Linked DNA regions of Homo sapiens: all the other regions are linked to region 1. Evidence: promoter capture Hi-C in human tissues and cell types (Jung and others, 2019). All regions are on one chromosome and are shown on one strand. The core of a region is centred on a gene start or on the middle of the fragment in contact, and the rest is flanking DNA. Distances in the headings are between cores, read along the strand shown.

Evidence for each region. Contacts are between HindIII fragments. The study calls those that stand out against the background at their distance.
Region 2: a fragment that was not itself captured here is called in contact with the fragment with the promoter of FAM181B in region 1 in 1 of the 25 tissues and cell types used here (adrenal gland).
Region 3: a fragment that was not itself captured here is called in contact with the fragment with the promoter of FAM181B in region 1 in 2 of the 25 tissues and cell types used here (hippocampus and pancreas).

The regions. Positions count from the first base shown.
Region 1 is chr11:82,732,587-82,737,441 of GRCh38, forward strand. It overlaps FAM181B (family with sequence similarity 181 member B), which reads right to left and starts at 1,278. Exons shown (of 1, transcript NM_175885.4): 1 at 1-1,278. The coding sequence starts at 1,143. The HindIII fragment of the contact is 21,418 bases long and covers 1-4,855 here.
Region 2 is chr11:82,765,734-82,770,588 of GRCh38, forward strand. No RefSeq gene overlaps it. Among named protein-coding and RNA genes, the nearest start is that of LINC02734, 13 kb to the right of the region's middle. The HindIII fragment of the contact is 3,483 bases long and covers 1,096-4,578 here.
Region 3 is chr11:82,698,467-82,703,321 of GRCh38, forward strand. No RefSeq gene overlaps it. Among named protein-coding and RNA genes, the nearest start is that of FAM181B, 33 kb to the right of the region's middle. The HindIII fragment of the contact is 4,112 bases long and covers 315-4,426 here.

The DNA of each region.
Region 1 (4,855 bases), core at 28-2,527:
GGCGCAGTCTGGAAAGAAGGGGGCGAAAGAGGCCAAATGGCCCCGCCCGTCCTCCCCGCCGGGAGAATCCGCAGCGGCGGGGTACAGGGGGCTCAAGGGCTCGTTCAAGGTCAAGCCGCCGCGGGGGGCAGTCAGGGGGCTCTTTTTGGTCGGGGAGCAGCCCGGGACGCTCCAGGGCTCGGGGTACAGTAGGTTTCCCACCACTGCCGGCGGCGGCTCAAAGAGGCCGGGCTCCAGCTCCGGGGGTCCCCGCAGTACGGAGGCTCCGGCGGGGAACACGTCGAGAGGCTCGGCGGCAAGCAAGACTGCCGCCTCCGTGCCGGCGCCGTAGTCGGGCCCCAGCAGCTCAAAGAACTCCACGGCCTCCGCGCCCTTCTCCAGGTCGCCCAAGCTCACGTCCGGCCCCGACGGGCCACACCCGCCGCCGCCTGCCCGGGACGGCTCCGTGAAGAAGGACGGAGGCAGATTGCGTGCCCGCAGCGGGACCTTCCTGGCCCCTGGGATCGCCGTGGCCCCCGCGGGGCCTGCCACGTCCCCTCCCGCGCCCCCAGTGCCCGCACCTCCTAGCCCGGCCGCCGGCGCAGCCACCTCACCCCCCGCCGGCTCGGCACCCCCGGGGACGTGGCGCAGCGAGTCGAAGAGCGCGGCCAGACTTCGGCTTTGCAAGCTGGCGGCCGCGGCGGCCTGCGACGCCTCCCGCCGGGGGGCAGCCTTGCCGTGGGCCGGGGCCGCGACTGTCGGGGCGCTAGGGGCGGCCAGCGGCCGTTTGGCTGGCGTGTCGGCGGCGCTCGGGGAGGGCGGGCCGGGGGGCGCGGCGCCCATGAGGCCGCTGCAGCGCTTGATCTGCTTCTGCAGGTACTTGCGGTGGTTCACCTTCCGCTTCGACTTGCCCGGCTTGTCCAGCGCCAGCTTGATGTTGCTGGACGCCGAGTCAATGAAGCTGAGTAGATCGCGGGTGGCCTCGCGCACGTCCCCTCCTTCGGCTCCCGACAGCAGCGCACCCGCCGGAGCCCCGGTCTCATCGTCCTCGAAACAGCAGCCCTTGTCCAGGGCTCCGAAGGCGCCCCCTAGCCCGTCCGGGGAGCCCCCGAAGCCGAAGGGCACGAAAGGGTGCGTGCTGAGGAGCGCCGCCTGCACCGCCATCGCCGCGGCTCCCGGGCTGTCCGCAGCGCTGCCCGTGCGCCCCCGCCAGCTCCTGCCCGCCGCCCAGACCCAGCTCCCGCCCCGGCGCGGCGCGCGCGGCGCAGCCTACTAGTTCCGGGCCTGGCTCGCTGCGCTGCCTCCCGGGGGAGCTCATTAGGTCTTGTAAGCAAGGGGCGGAGGGAGGGAGCGCGCGGCGACCGTCCCGGTGGTAGAGGGGAGGGGCTTACTTAGCCTGGCTTGGAGGAGTGGGGGGTCGCTTTAGTTTTCTGAGCTTTCTGAAGCTCAACGCCTTAACTCCTTCGTTTCCCTTTGCCCCGTGGTGTTTCTCTTGACTCCTCTAACCGCAAGGGGTGAGGAAGAGATGGCTGGTCTCAAACTCCAGTTCAGGCCCATGAGGCCGCTGCAGCGCTTGATAGGCTTCTGCAGGTACTTGCGGTGGTGCCTCTCCTGAGGCAAGAAGGCAGGAGTCTAGAGACGTGGGTTTCAGTCCAGCTGTATAACAACACCCACCAGCTTCTGGGCGCTTGCTTCTGCCAGGCGCTGTCCATCTATTATCTCATTTAATCCTTGAACAACAGCCCTGTGAATTACATGTTATCGCCATTCAACAAACGTGGACACTGCACCTCAGGGAGGTTCAGTGAGTTGGCCAAAGTCAGATCTAGCCCATTCTGACTCCAAAGCCATTCCTAAGCCCTTGACAATACTTGCGTCCTCTCTTGCCCTTGCCTTTCTCATCTATTAAGATGGGGAAGGAAAATGAGTATTTCTTAAAGCTCTAGACCTGATCCTAAGATTCTAACCTGAGTTTTCCCAGGATTCTCAAGCCCAGTGCTCTTTCTTCTTGACTGTTTGCCACTTGATTGTTACGAGTAACAATTGGCTAACAGTAAATTGAGGCCAGCAGTGGCCCATCTTTTATTAACACATAGCAGGAGGCAATGGAGAAAGGAGTCGATCTGGCTAAGCCCCCTGTTACTTGAGAACACTGTGTGTGTATAAAACTCTCAGCATGTTAGAATAAAAGATGGATTGGAACCTCTCCCCTACCTGTCATACCATTTAGGTTATCCCTGGAATTTTCATTGCATTTCAGGGATCATCATGAAGTTCACTTAAAACTAATTTCACCTGGGCAATCCTCTTTGGGATAGATAGAGAAAATGAGCAATAAGGTCATTTTCACAAGAGATTCAGAAGAGGCTTGGGTTCTGGTCTTAGCCACCACTCAATAACCTCATGACTTAGGTTGAAATCCTTGCTCTGCTGAGTGCATGGCTTTAGACAAACCAGCGTACTCTCTCTGTTTAGCTTACTCATGTTAAATGCAGGTAAAGTTGCCCTCCCCACAGGGCACTTGTGATATTTAAATGATACATTGTTCCATAGCCTGGATGAGTATTCACCCTTACTTCTCTGAAACACAAAAAGGTGACTATATCCCTTACGTGTCTTCTGGATCATAGGGTGTTCATGAGCATTAAGTGAGATCATAGATGCTTCTCAATTTGTGATAGAGCAACAACATCCTGATAAACACATTGTAAGTTGAAAATATTGTAGGTTAAAATGCATGTAATACACTGATTCAAGTTGGAAAATCATAAAGTTGAACCATCATAAGTTGGGGACTGTCTCTATATGAAAACACTGTGTGTGTGATAAAGTGTTCTCTAAATAAGTTACTCTAGTTTCGATACAGAGCTTGCATAGGAGAGACATAGACCATCTCTTTCAAAACTCTTTTTATTAAGCCTCACTTTGTAGATGTAGCGAAACCATTTTTGAACACCATGAAGGCACAGCCTTACCAAAGAAAAAAGGCCAGATGGGCCATCAGAGAAATACAAATCAAAACCGCAATGAGATACCATCTCACACCAGTTAGAATGACGATCATTAAAAAGTCAGGAAACAACAGGTGCTGGAGAGCATGTGGAGAAATAGGAACACTTTTATACTGTTGGTGGGACTGTAAACTAGTTCAACCATTGTGGAAGACAGTGTGGCGATTCCTCAAGGATCTAGAACTAGAAATACCATTTGAACCAGCCATCCCATTACTGGGTATATACCCAAAGTATTATAAATCTTGCTGCTATAAAGACACGTGCACACGTATGTTTATTGTGGCACATAGCAAAGACTATTATTCACATAGCAAAGACTTGGGACCAACCCAAATGTCTATCAGTGATACACTGGATTAAGAAAATGTGGCACATATACACCATAGAATACTATGCAGCCATAAAAAAGGATGACTTCATGTCTTTTGTAGGGACATGGATGAAGCTGGAAACCATCATTCTGAGCAAACTATCGCAAGGACAGAAAACCAAACACTGCACAGGTGGGAAATGAACAATGAGAACACTTGGACACAGGGTGGGGAACATCACACACCGGGGCCTGTCGTGGGGTGGGGGGATGGGGGAGGGATAGCGTCAGGAGATATACCTAATGTAAATGACAAGTTAATGGGTGCAGCACACCAACATGGCACATGTATACATACGTAACAAACCTGCACATTGTGCACATGTACCCTAGAACTTAAAGTATAATAAAAAAGAAAGAAAGAAAAAAGGCCAGATGAACATTTTTCATTTAGAAGATGAAGTAGCCACTTCCCAAACCCACATAGCTGAGCCAAACTTTTTATTTTAAATTCAAATTGGCTCAATTATCATGGACTTTTCATTTGAGTTACACACAGCATTTTGTCCTCCATGGCCGAACTGTCTGTTTTACTCTTGGTGGTATTCACATTCAGAAAATTGTGCAGACCTGTCACTGATTTGTGCTTCTTCCACTCCAGATGTGGATGTCAGCACTGCCCATCCCCTTTCCAACAGGGCCATTCCATAGGCTTCCAGGTCTGGCAGCCAAAAGCACTAACTTTTTTTTTTTTTCACCTTCTGTCAACTGAGCACTCTTACAAGTCCTTGGACACCAATTGCACAGTACTCTACATTTAATCGACATCTTATTCCGAAAAAACTCTTAATCCCCAGGGTTATCTAAATCCTAAAATCATATTCAAAATAAATGGAATATGAAAAGCTTCATATGTAAAAGTCTTTCTTCATTTCTATTGGAGTTCTGCACATCAAAGTTGATTTGAAGTTAGATGAGGCCAGGTTCAAATTCTGGCCCTGCCTATTGCTATTGAACTGCTTGGACAAGTCAGTTCATATTCCAAAGGCTCAAACTCCTTATCTGAAAAAAGGGAATGGTCATAATTGTTCTCAGGGTGAGAATTACATGACATAACAGGCAAGTAATGCCTCTGAATCTTACTTTTCTCACCTGCACAGTGGAGATAATCTCAACTCCTCAAGGTTGTTGTGAGATGGTATATATAAAAGCACCTCACACAAAATAGCAGTTCAACAAATGTCCATGTTCTTGATTCCTTAGGCCCCACCCATTCCTTACCAACACATTACCCTATGAAACCAGCATCATTTGTCCTTTCCCTCAGCAAAGTGAGTGACTATTTTCAAATGCAAGAGAGTAGCTATACTTGGGGGTTGTAGAAACTTACAAAAAGACAATGAAATACAGGAGAGAGAGTGCTAAAACTGGAGCCGGAGACTGACACTGGAGTCCAGTCCTGCCTTTATTATCTGACTGCCTATGGAAAAGTCACTTAACCTTCAGGACCTCGATGTTCCCATCCATAAATGGGGAATAATAACATAATCCT
Region 2 (4,855 bases), core at 1,587-4,086, 35 kb after region 1:
TACTGTTTCTATTGAAGCACCAGTCACAATAGCCAAAATATGGAAAAAACTTAATTGTTCATCAACGGTCAAAAGGATAAAGAAAATATGGTATATATACATGATGGAATACTATTTAGCCATAAGAAAAAATGAAATCCAGTTATTTGTGGCAACTTGGATGCACCCGGAGGACATTATGTTACTTGAAATACGTCAGGCACCTAAAGATAAATACCACATGTTCTTACCCATATGTGGGGGGTTAAAAAGTTGATCTTATAGAAGTAGACAGCAGAATATTTGTTGCTAGAAGCTGGGAAGGGTAAGGGGTAGGGACATGGGGAGAGGTTGGTTAATAGATACAAGGTTACAGTTAGAAAGAATTAGTTCTAGTGTTTTACAGCACCGTAGGGTGACTATAATAAACAATTTATTGTATATTTTTAAATAGCTAGAAGAGAGGATTTTTAATATTACCAGTACAAAGAAATAATAAAGATTTGAGAGGATGGATATACTAATTGCCCTGATTTGATCATTACACATTGTATACATGTTTGGAAATATCATGCTGTACCCCATAAATATGTACAACTATTATGTATCAAAAATAACAAAAGAACAAATAAAAAATAAATAATATATGTTTAAAATACATAAAGAGATAAACCAGATTAGGTTAAAAATAGAACTACCATCTGATCCACCAATCACACTACTGGATTGTATGGGAAATGAAATCAGTATTTCAAAGAGATATCTGCACTCCCATGTTCATTGCAGCACTGCTTACAATAGCCAAGATATAGAATCAAAATAAGTCTCCAAGAATGGATGAACAGATAAAGAAAAATCTGGTATATACACACAATGGAATGCTATTCGCCATAAAAGGATGAAATCTTATCATTTGCAATCACATAGATAGACCTAAGGACATCATGTTACGTGAAATAAGCCAGACACAGAAATACAAATACCACATGATCTAACTCATATGTGGAATATTAAAAATAAAAGTTGACATCATAGAAGCAGAGAGTGGAACAGTGTAACAGTGGATACCTGAGGCTGAGGAGGGGAGCAAAGGAGGGGAGGATGGGGAGAGGATGATCAACAGGTACAAGCTACAATTCAATAGGAGCAAGTCTATTGCTCAGTAGAGTGACTATAGTTAACAGAAAGGTATTATATATTACAAATAGCTAGAAGAGAGGCTTTTTAATGTGCTTACCACAAAGACATGATAAATGCATGAGATGATAGGTAAACTAAGTACCATGATTTAATTATTTTACAACATATATATTCATGGAAACATCAAATTGTACCACACAAATATGCACATTTAAAAATCAAATTAAAAAAATTAAAACAACGACTATGGACAAATGAGCTTATGCAGCCCCACTTGCCCTAAGAGAAATATAGATTTATGATACCCAATTATAATAAAGATAAATATGCTGATTCATGTATACTTTATGCCTGCACTTTAACTTATAAACAGAGCTTCCTACCACTTTCAGTTTTAGGTCTCCTGGTTTGTGAACTGTTCTGTTGTATGCACAATACACTTTTTAAAAATTTCTAGTTTTCAGCTGGCAGCACCCAGATCAATAAACTGACTCAGCACAAGAAGATAGCTTGGACTCCCTATGATTTCATCTCTGATCTGACCAATCAGCACTCCCGGCTCACTGGCTTTCCCCCACCCACCAAGCTGTCCTTAAAAACTCTGATCTGATCCCCAAATGCTCAAGGAGACTGACTTGAGTAATAATAAAACTCCAGTCTCCCAGAAAAAAAAAGAAAAAATTCTAGTTTCATCTAATTTTATTCTTGACAGAAGAAAGAGAAAAAAATATGAGAGGCCATTATGGAAAGTGGGTAAAGGAGCATTCTAAAGGAACCTAATATAATTGCCAGACAGTGTCTCAGGTTTAATTGAAGTTGTTAATTACTAATTTATGTGAAATAAATCTGCCTAGTTCTCTGCTCTTAGATTTATGATCTTGGCCAAGTTACTTCAGTAAAGAATGTTAGTTTCATTATGTAAAATGGTGGTGATAAAACACTTACCTCTTAATAGTGCTATGTGGAACTTAGTGCTGCCAAACAGATTTCTTTCCTAGATATGCTACATATAAAGTCCCAGCTCAAGTCTCCTTCCAACTTCACTTCAATGTGTCCTCTAATCCAGCCCACCTCAGAACTCCAAGCCCTGAGTCCCTGAAGGGAAAAGCTCTAACCAGAGGTACCACAGATCACTAAAGACCTATCCCCCAGCAAAGGCAAAGGAAGAACTCCTGGAGTCCCCATCTATAAAGGAGGTCAGTTTTAAAGTTGAGGGAGGAGGAAGTTGAAGAAAGGGCCAAGTCAGTGGATTCTAGCACACAGAGAAGCTGTGGATGGACAGCACTATGCTTCTAGACAGGTGACCTGGATGAAAGAAGGACAGAGGGGCAAGGAGTAGACTTGCAGAGGTTAGGGTAAAAAAATTATGGTAATTAGAAGGTTTGGGGGCCTGTTTTCCAGAATTCTGAGGTAGGAAGTGTCTTCCTAGGTGTTTATATTTTTCATTTACTTACTTTAGGTATCAGTGGTCTTCAAACTAGTGTGTTACATACACCTAAGGATGTGAAAAGATTCTTCAAGAGTACTCAGATACTTGTAGCTCTAACAAGATATATATCCATATCCTAAATTCCATATGGGTTCTTTCCTAAAATTGATAATAGAGGCTCATTTCCTGTCCTAGGCTCTCATGATTGTCTTCCTTTTATTTTTTAAAAAAGCAAGGCATAGCCCTTCTCTTTTTCTTTCCCCCTTTTCCTAATCCTTTTCCCTTTCTCTTTATTTCCTTTCCCTTCTCTTCCTGAACAATTCACTTCTAAAGCATTTAGGTGAGGCAGAGCAAAGTAGAAGTCTGTCTTGGCAGTGCAACAATGGGTCAGGATGAAGAAGGGGAGCTGTAGTGGTCCACGGTCAGGTGTCAGAGCCCAAGCAGGGTGAGAGGTATTAAGCCTGGGAGGCAGCCTGATGTTGGCAAGAAGGAAGTTCATTGGACTGGAGCTCACTGTGGAGTGTCAGAGCCAGAGCACAATGAGGAATGGGGAATGACATGATTTGTCCAAGCAAGTAAGGCAGGCATCCATGGAGAGGGGAGGCCCAGCATGCAGTGTTGAAGAATGTGGAAGAGGTCATTCATGTAGGAGACAGAGATGGGAAGTTGGCTTTATACAGGGAGATGGATCAAAAATTAAACATATTAAGGATAAAAAGAGCCAAGATTCTCCCTTTCAGAGAAGACAGGTATAAATATTGAAATGTAGGGGAAAGAAACTAAAATAGTCCCTGCTATATTGGATTAGAATTGGAGGCTTTGCTATGAACTTTTGGTTTTCAATACAGGCAGACATATGTAGAAATATAGACATAAATGCGTGTTCCCTGGTCCTGTCCACTAAGAGAGTCTGGAAACAGCAGTAGCCCAATAGTAGTGAGCACACCTGGCACTTAGATCTTGACTCCTTGGATAACTGGCTGATTTTAATACTGATGAGGGAAAGCACAAAATGAGCCTGGAACATCTTTTGTGCCAGAAGAGACTTGCTCAAAAAATGATGAAGATTTGTCCAAAGGACTCAGAAGCCAGCTTGAGGAGGTTGCCACTCGCTAAATAGAGAACAACTTGAGCATCAAAATAAATAATGATCATGATGTATCATAATCCATTCAATAAGGCCAAGTGTGATGGCTCATGCCTGTAATCCCAACACTTTGGGAGGCTGAGGCGGGCAGATCACCTGAGGTCAGGAGTTAGAGACCAGTCTGGCCAATATGGTGAAACCCGGTCTCTACTAAAAATACAAAAAAATTAGCCAGGTGTGGTGGCCGGCGCCTGTAATGCCAGCTACTTGCGAGGTTGAGGCAGGAGAATCGCTTGAACCCGGGAGGTGGAGGTTGCAGTGAGCCGAGATCACACCATTGCATGCCTGGGCGACAAGACCAAGACTCTGTCTCAACAACAACGACAAAAATCAAATAAAATCGGATACCATAAATCCAAACAGACACTCATAGGTATATGACTAAATTAAAGATTTGTTAAGAAATTGAATATTTACAAAGCTTTAAAATACCTTTCCACAAATATGTATTTTGTGTAGTGTAAGAGTAATTTTACAGTGGATATGTAACTTGACAGAGGGTACAACTTAAGTGATCAGTGTAAACATCAATTAAGGGAGAGATTGAAATCTTATATCATTGATATAAGAATGCATTGAGAATACAGAAACATCTCTGAAATATTTCTGCCTAAAATGCATAATCTGAATCCAACATGAGAAAATAGTAGACAAACCCAAATCAAGGAACATTCTACAAAGTAGCTGGCCTATAATCTTCAAATTGCCAAAGTCATGAAAGAAGGAAAGACTAAGGAACTGTTCTAAAATGAATAACACAAAAGAGACAGGACACCTAAATGCAAGGAGTGATAAGGAGCAAATTCTGGTGTAACTTGAATAGGATCTAAGAAATATATAGTAATAATGTACCAATGTTAATTTCCCAATATTAACTCTTGTACTGTGCTTATGTACAAGAATGGCCTTCCTCACAAGAAAGTTACACTAAAGTATTTGGGAGTGATGAGACATCATGTCATAACTTACTCTCAAATGGTTTATACCCACAAAAAAATCTTTGTATTGTATCTCAACTCTTTGATAAGTTTGTGATTATTTTGAAATAAATAATAATATAATAATAATAAAAATGGAGATGATTAATCTCAAATCTTAAGACAGTGTATTGTCATGAAGTGTAAAATGTCAAGGGCATCAAAATGAAGAGATCATGTTAC
Region 3 (4,855 bases), core at 1,121-3,620, 33 kb before region 1:
CCTTCTACCATATGAAGGTGCAGCTTTCAAGGTGACATCTTGGAAGCAGAGACCAGGGCCCCCACTAGACATCAAACCTGCTGGTGCCTTGATCCTGGACTTCGTAGCCTCTAGAACTGTCAGGGAAATAAATTTCTGTTTTTACCAAATGACCTAGTCACAGGTATGTTGTTATAGTGTTACAGAAACACAAACGAACTAAGACACACGGTCTCATGTGGAGGTCCAGAATCTCTTTCCTGAAGCCCTGCCCCAACTTTCTAAAAGTCCAAGGGCTCCACAGTCAGAAGGTGAGGGTGGGCGCCAGCCCTGCTCACAGCTTCCAGCAAAAAGAGAACTGAAATGGGATGTCTGTTCCTCCAGTGCTTCTCATTCACTACAGCTCCAATCACTGTTGAAGGCTAGTTCTGGAGTGTTCCTCGGATGAATCTTGCCCCACTGCTCCTGTTGCCCTTATGATCCCTATTTCAGTCATTGGCATTCTTTGAGAGCATGAAATGTCCATATCCAAGAGTCAGCACAATGAAGAGGGCTTCTCATCACACTGGGTCTTTGAGGTCAAAACTTAGATTTCGTCACACAGCCACTTCACTTCTGTAGACAGGTCTGCAGGCTGCTTCACAGTGGCAGAGGTGCAGGCCCAGAGTCTGCCCTTCACAGGCTGGGAGTGGTGGGGTGGTGGGGCTTCTGGTACTTGTGGAAACATGACCCAGGAAGGCTCAGAGGTAGGGAAGGCAGTGTCCCAAGTGTGGTAACAGACCTGGTCCCTACCAGAGTGGCTGGTGTGGGACCCTTTCCAGTGACCTGTGGTTCTTTGAAAATCTATGAGTGTTACAGCCAAACCAGAGGCGTTCATCCTACTATCACAGACTCTGCTGTTCTCTCAGCTCTCTCAGAGCTACTTCCCCAGAGAGCAAGAGTGTTGTAAGAGGGCTGGGTTCTGGAAATTCATTAGGCCGTAGATAAGATAGACAAGGCCGTCAACATCCACCCCAAAACCTCTCCTTAACTCTGAATCTCAGGGAGAAAATGAGTGCAGGAAGGAAAGTTGGGAGATGTAGAACTCCCTGCCTCCAGATGAGCTTCTTACAACCATTGGCCTAACCCCTCCCCTGAACTTCCCAGTGACTCCATTACACCTTTTATCCAGGATAGGATCACAGCCTGGTACACATGTGCAGATTTAAGATGTGTCCCTCAAGATGTGCCTGTTCATGGTTGTATCAGTTGGCAGCTGCTTCCACTGAAGAAGAAAAAAATAGATACCCTATGGTAGGGCTCCCTTATACCAGCGATGTGATTTGTGCTTGAACAAGTGCACAAAGACAGCCATTGTAGCATTGTTCGTAAGAGTGAAAAATGGAAACAACCTAAGTGTCCATAAATATGAGACTGATTAAATAAATTACAGTATATGCATCCCATACAGTGCCTTGCAGCATTAAAAGCAATGAGGTAAATTTATGTTTACTGATGTGGAAAGATGTGTAAGATTCTTTAGTGTGTGAGAAAAAGCACACTGCAAAGCACTATTAAAATATGTTCCTTTATCATTTTAAGAGATTATCTACATTTTTTATTTTGACTTCCTTGTGTTATCCTAGAAAAGAGATTATCTATAAATGTAACAAAGACTATATGCCAGGCACTGTAATTCCTTTATACATAACTCATCTAATCCTCATAACAACCCTGTGGGGTAGGTGTTCACTTTACTTATAGGAAAGCCACGGTGTAGGGAGGTTATGTAACTAGGATAAGCTCATAAAGCTATAATAGCAGAGACTAAGAGTTATCATTGGAACCCAGGCAGGCTGGCTCCAGATCCTTGCATCTAAGCACCACACTGTTCTGCATTTTTCTGTGCAGGTGTGTATGCCTACATCTGTCTGGAAAGATACCCAAAAAAACTCTTAATACTAGTTACCTCCAAGGAACTGAAGGAATGAATGCAAAGAAAACGTTTACCTTCTCACTATATGGCTTTCTGTACTACTTGACTATTTTTATAATGAGCATACATTACCTTTACAATATACATTGTGTGTGTGTGTGCGTGTGTGTGCGCTTAAAGCGAGTCAGTAGACTTGGACTGATGGAATCATCCACCTTAGGCCTAATCTCACTGATACTCCCTACACTCATACACTAAAATTCTACTCAGGTTTTATTCATTCATCCATTAACATTTAAGCCCCACTGGGTACCAGGCATGGTCATTGGATGCACTACCCTGTTGAAAACCTTCAGTGACTTACTATCAGCCATGACTGTCTGTGATCCAGGCCCTCCCCACCCCAAACCCTTGCTACTTCACACTCGAACTGTATACTTTGGCAATGCCAAACTGTTAATCATTCCCTGCTCACCAGTGTCTGGTACTATCTTCCTTTCTGCACCTTCTTCATGGAGTACTCTCATCCAGCCATCCTCTCCCACCCTCCGATGCTGAACTCCTACTCATCATGTACTGACTCAGTTGAAGAAGCATCTCAGACAGGAAGCTTTCCCCAAGCTCATCACCAACACCCTTCCCCATCGAAGGTGACTTTGGTGCCCCTCCACCTGCTCCCATAAACCCTGCCTGAGTCTCAGTCCTAGGGCTTCACACATTGTTTTAATTGTCTACTCTGTGCACTTGTCCTCTTTGACTCCATGAGGGTGCTGTGTTCATCTTTGTTTTTCAGGCAACTAGCATAGGACCTAGCATAATGTATATGCCCAAAAATGTTTTGAAACTAATAATAGAGAATATTAAAAATAATAGCTAGGACTTATTAAATCCTATCATATGCAATATATTAATCTTAACCCTTTATATTTATTAGCTCTCAATTAATCCTCACAACAGCCCTGTAGTTAGGAATTAGAAAAATCCTCTTTTCCAGCTGAAGCCATTTTAAAGCACAGAGTGATTAAGTCATTTGTCTAAGTGCACACAGCTGAATAGCAGGAGTCAGAAATAGGCCCAGGGATGTGACCCCAAAACCCGGACCCAGCCCCTGTGCAACAGTCGCCTCTTGAATGGAAAGCTCAGTACCACCATTCAAAGCTTGGTTTTTAACTTCTCTCCAGCCTCCCCTGATCACTCTCTAATCTTTGACTTAGAAATGAAGCACCCATGAAACTTTTATTGTATGAGGCACATACAGGTGCCATTTCCTTGTTCCACCAAAGCTTCCTAAAGAGGACTCCAGATATTGCTCATTTCTGTTACCCTGGTGATCAGCCTAGAGCTAAAAACCCAAGAGCTGGCACTAAGGTATTTTCTGAAGCAAAGAAGAAAAGGAGTGAGAGAAGGAGCAAACAATAAGTCTTCCATCCTCCACCCCCTTTGTCACTGCCAACATGTACTCACATGTGTACATGCACATGTGTGTGTGTGCACACACACACAGCCCTTGGATCTCACCTCTTCCAAGTATTTCAGTGCCAGGGGAAAAAACCCCTTGAAAATAGCATCTCATCTTCTTTCCTATGGTTTTCTTTATAAAGAAAACCAAATGGTCCTATCATTCTGCCACAATTCCTAGCTGCAGCAAAGCACCTCAAAACTGACACTACAGCGCCACCTTTTGTTCAAAGGCCATTATGCCATCCAAATTGAACCATGCAAACAGGGTGGGAGTAAGTCTCCTTTGTCCAGTCTAATGAGTGTTAATAATCACACAAACACAAACATTGTTTTAAGAACCCCACCCCCTTACAATATCAAGGCATGGCAGGTACGGTGTGCATTGCTTGCAATTCACTTCAGTGAATGCCTTGTTGCCTGCTGCTGGGACTGTACATGTGGAAAGACTTCGGCTGTTAACAAATTGCCTCTACTACAGAGACCTGCCTCTCCCAAGGTCACGCCCTCCCCAGAGTGACCCACATAACAATGACTGACTGAGGCGGTAGTGTAGATGCTTGACCAACTTACCCCAGCTCAAGACCTCCGAAAGGCCATTCTCGCTCCAGATCTCCCCACAGGGTGGGCTGGGGCTGATATTGGGCCCATGTTGTTGGTCAGCTTCTCTCTCTGGCTAATCCTACTTCCAGTCTCTTCATTAGGTGTCAATCCTAAAGGCAGAGCTGAATAACCATCTCAGAATCTACTTCTGCAACACCACCTCTGCTAGGGAAAGCACCCCTGTCCATTCTATTGAAGGAGCATTTATTGAGCCTGCATGCATTAAAAAAGCAGACATGTAACGAACACGCACGTGTACCCCCTGAATCTAAAATAAATTTTTTTAAAAAGAGAAAAAGAAACAAAAGACCAAATTCTCTATTTCTGTAATCTAAAGCCCAAACTAGTCCATATGTAACTCTTAATCCTGTCAGATCAAGACAAGGGTGACTACAAATAAAAAAGGTAAATCAGCTAATATCCCAAAACCCTGTTTGAGTAACAACTGAACCACATAATCTTAGACTGTATCCATGTCATATGACCTACCATTCATGGGAAAAAGAGGTATGGAAGTTTCCCACTGGATTCAAAGGGTACATTTTGAACACATTTAGTTAAGGTAGAGAGGGAGAAAACTTTTCTCAAGGCAACATTTCATAACCCCTTCTTGGTTTTAGCTCCTTTTCATCACCACAGCAACTAAGGGCACTTTCAGGTAGGAATCAGCCACTATCAGCACCACTGTTTGGGAGAGACCCCAACTTACAAAAGAAGTGTGGCTTTGCCAAGCCCCCACAGAACAACCATAGCAGAGTGCATTCTAATAAGACACAGAGAAGTAAAGTAGTGGAGCGGGTTTTGTTATGCTCTAAACAGGTCACTCGCCTCTCTGGGTCTTCTTCATTTGCAGCAGGAGATATAATAGTAGCCATTTGATGGCCTGTGTGTCTCAGGTGC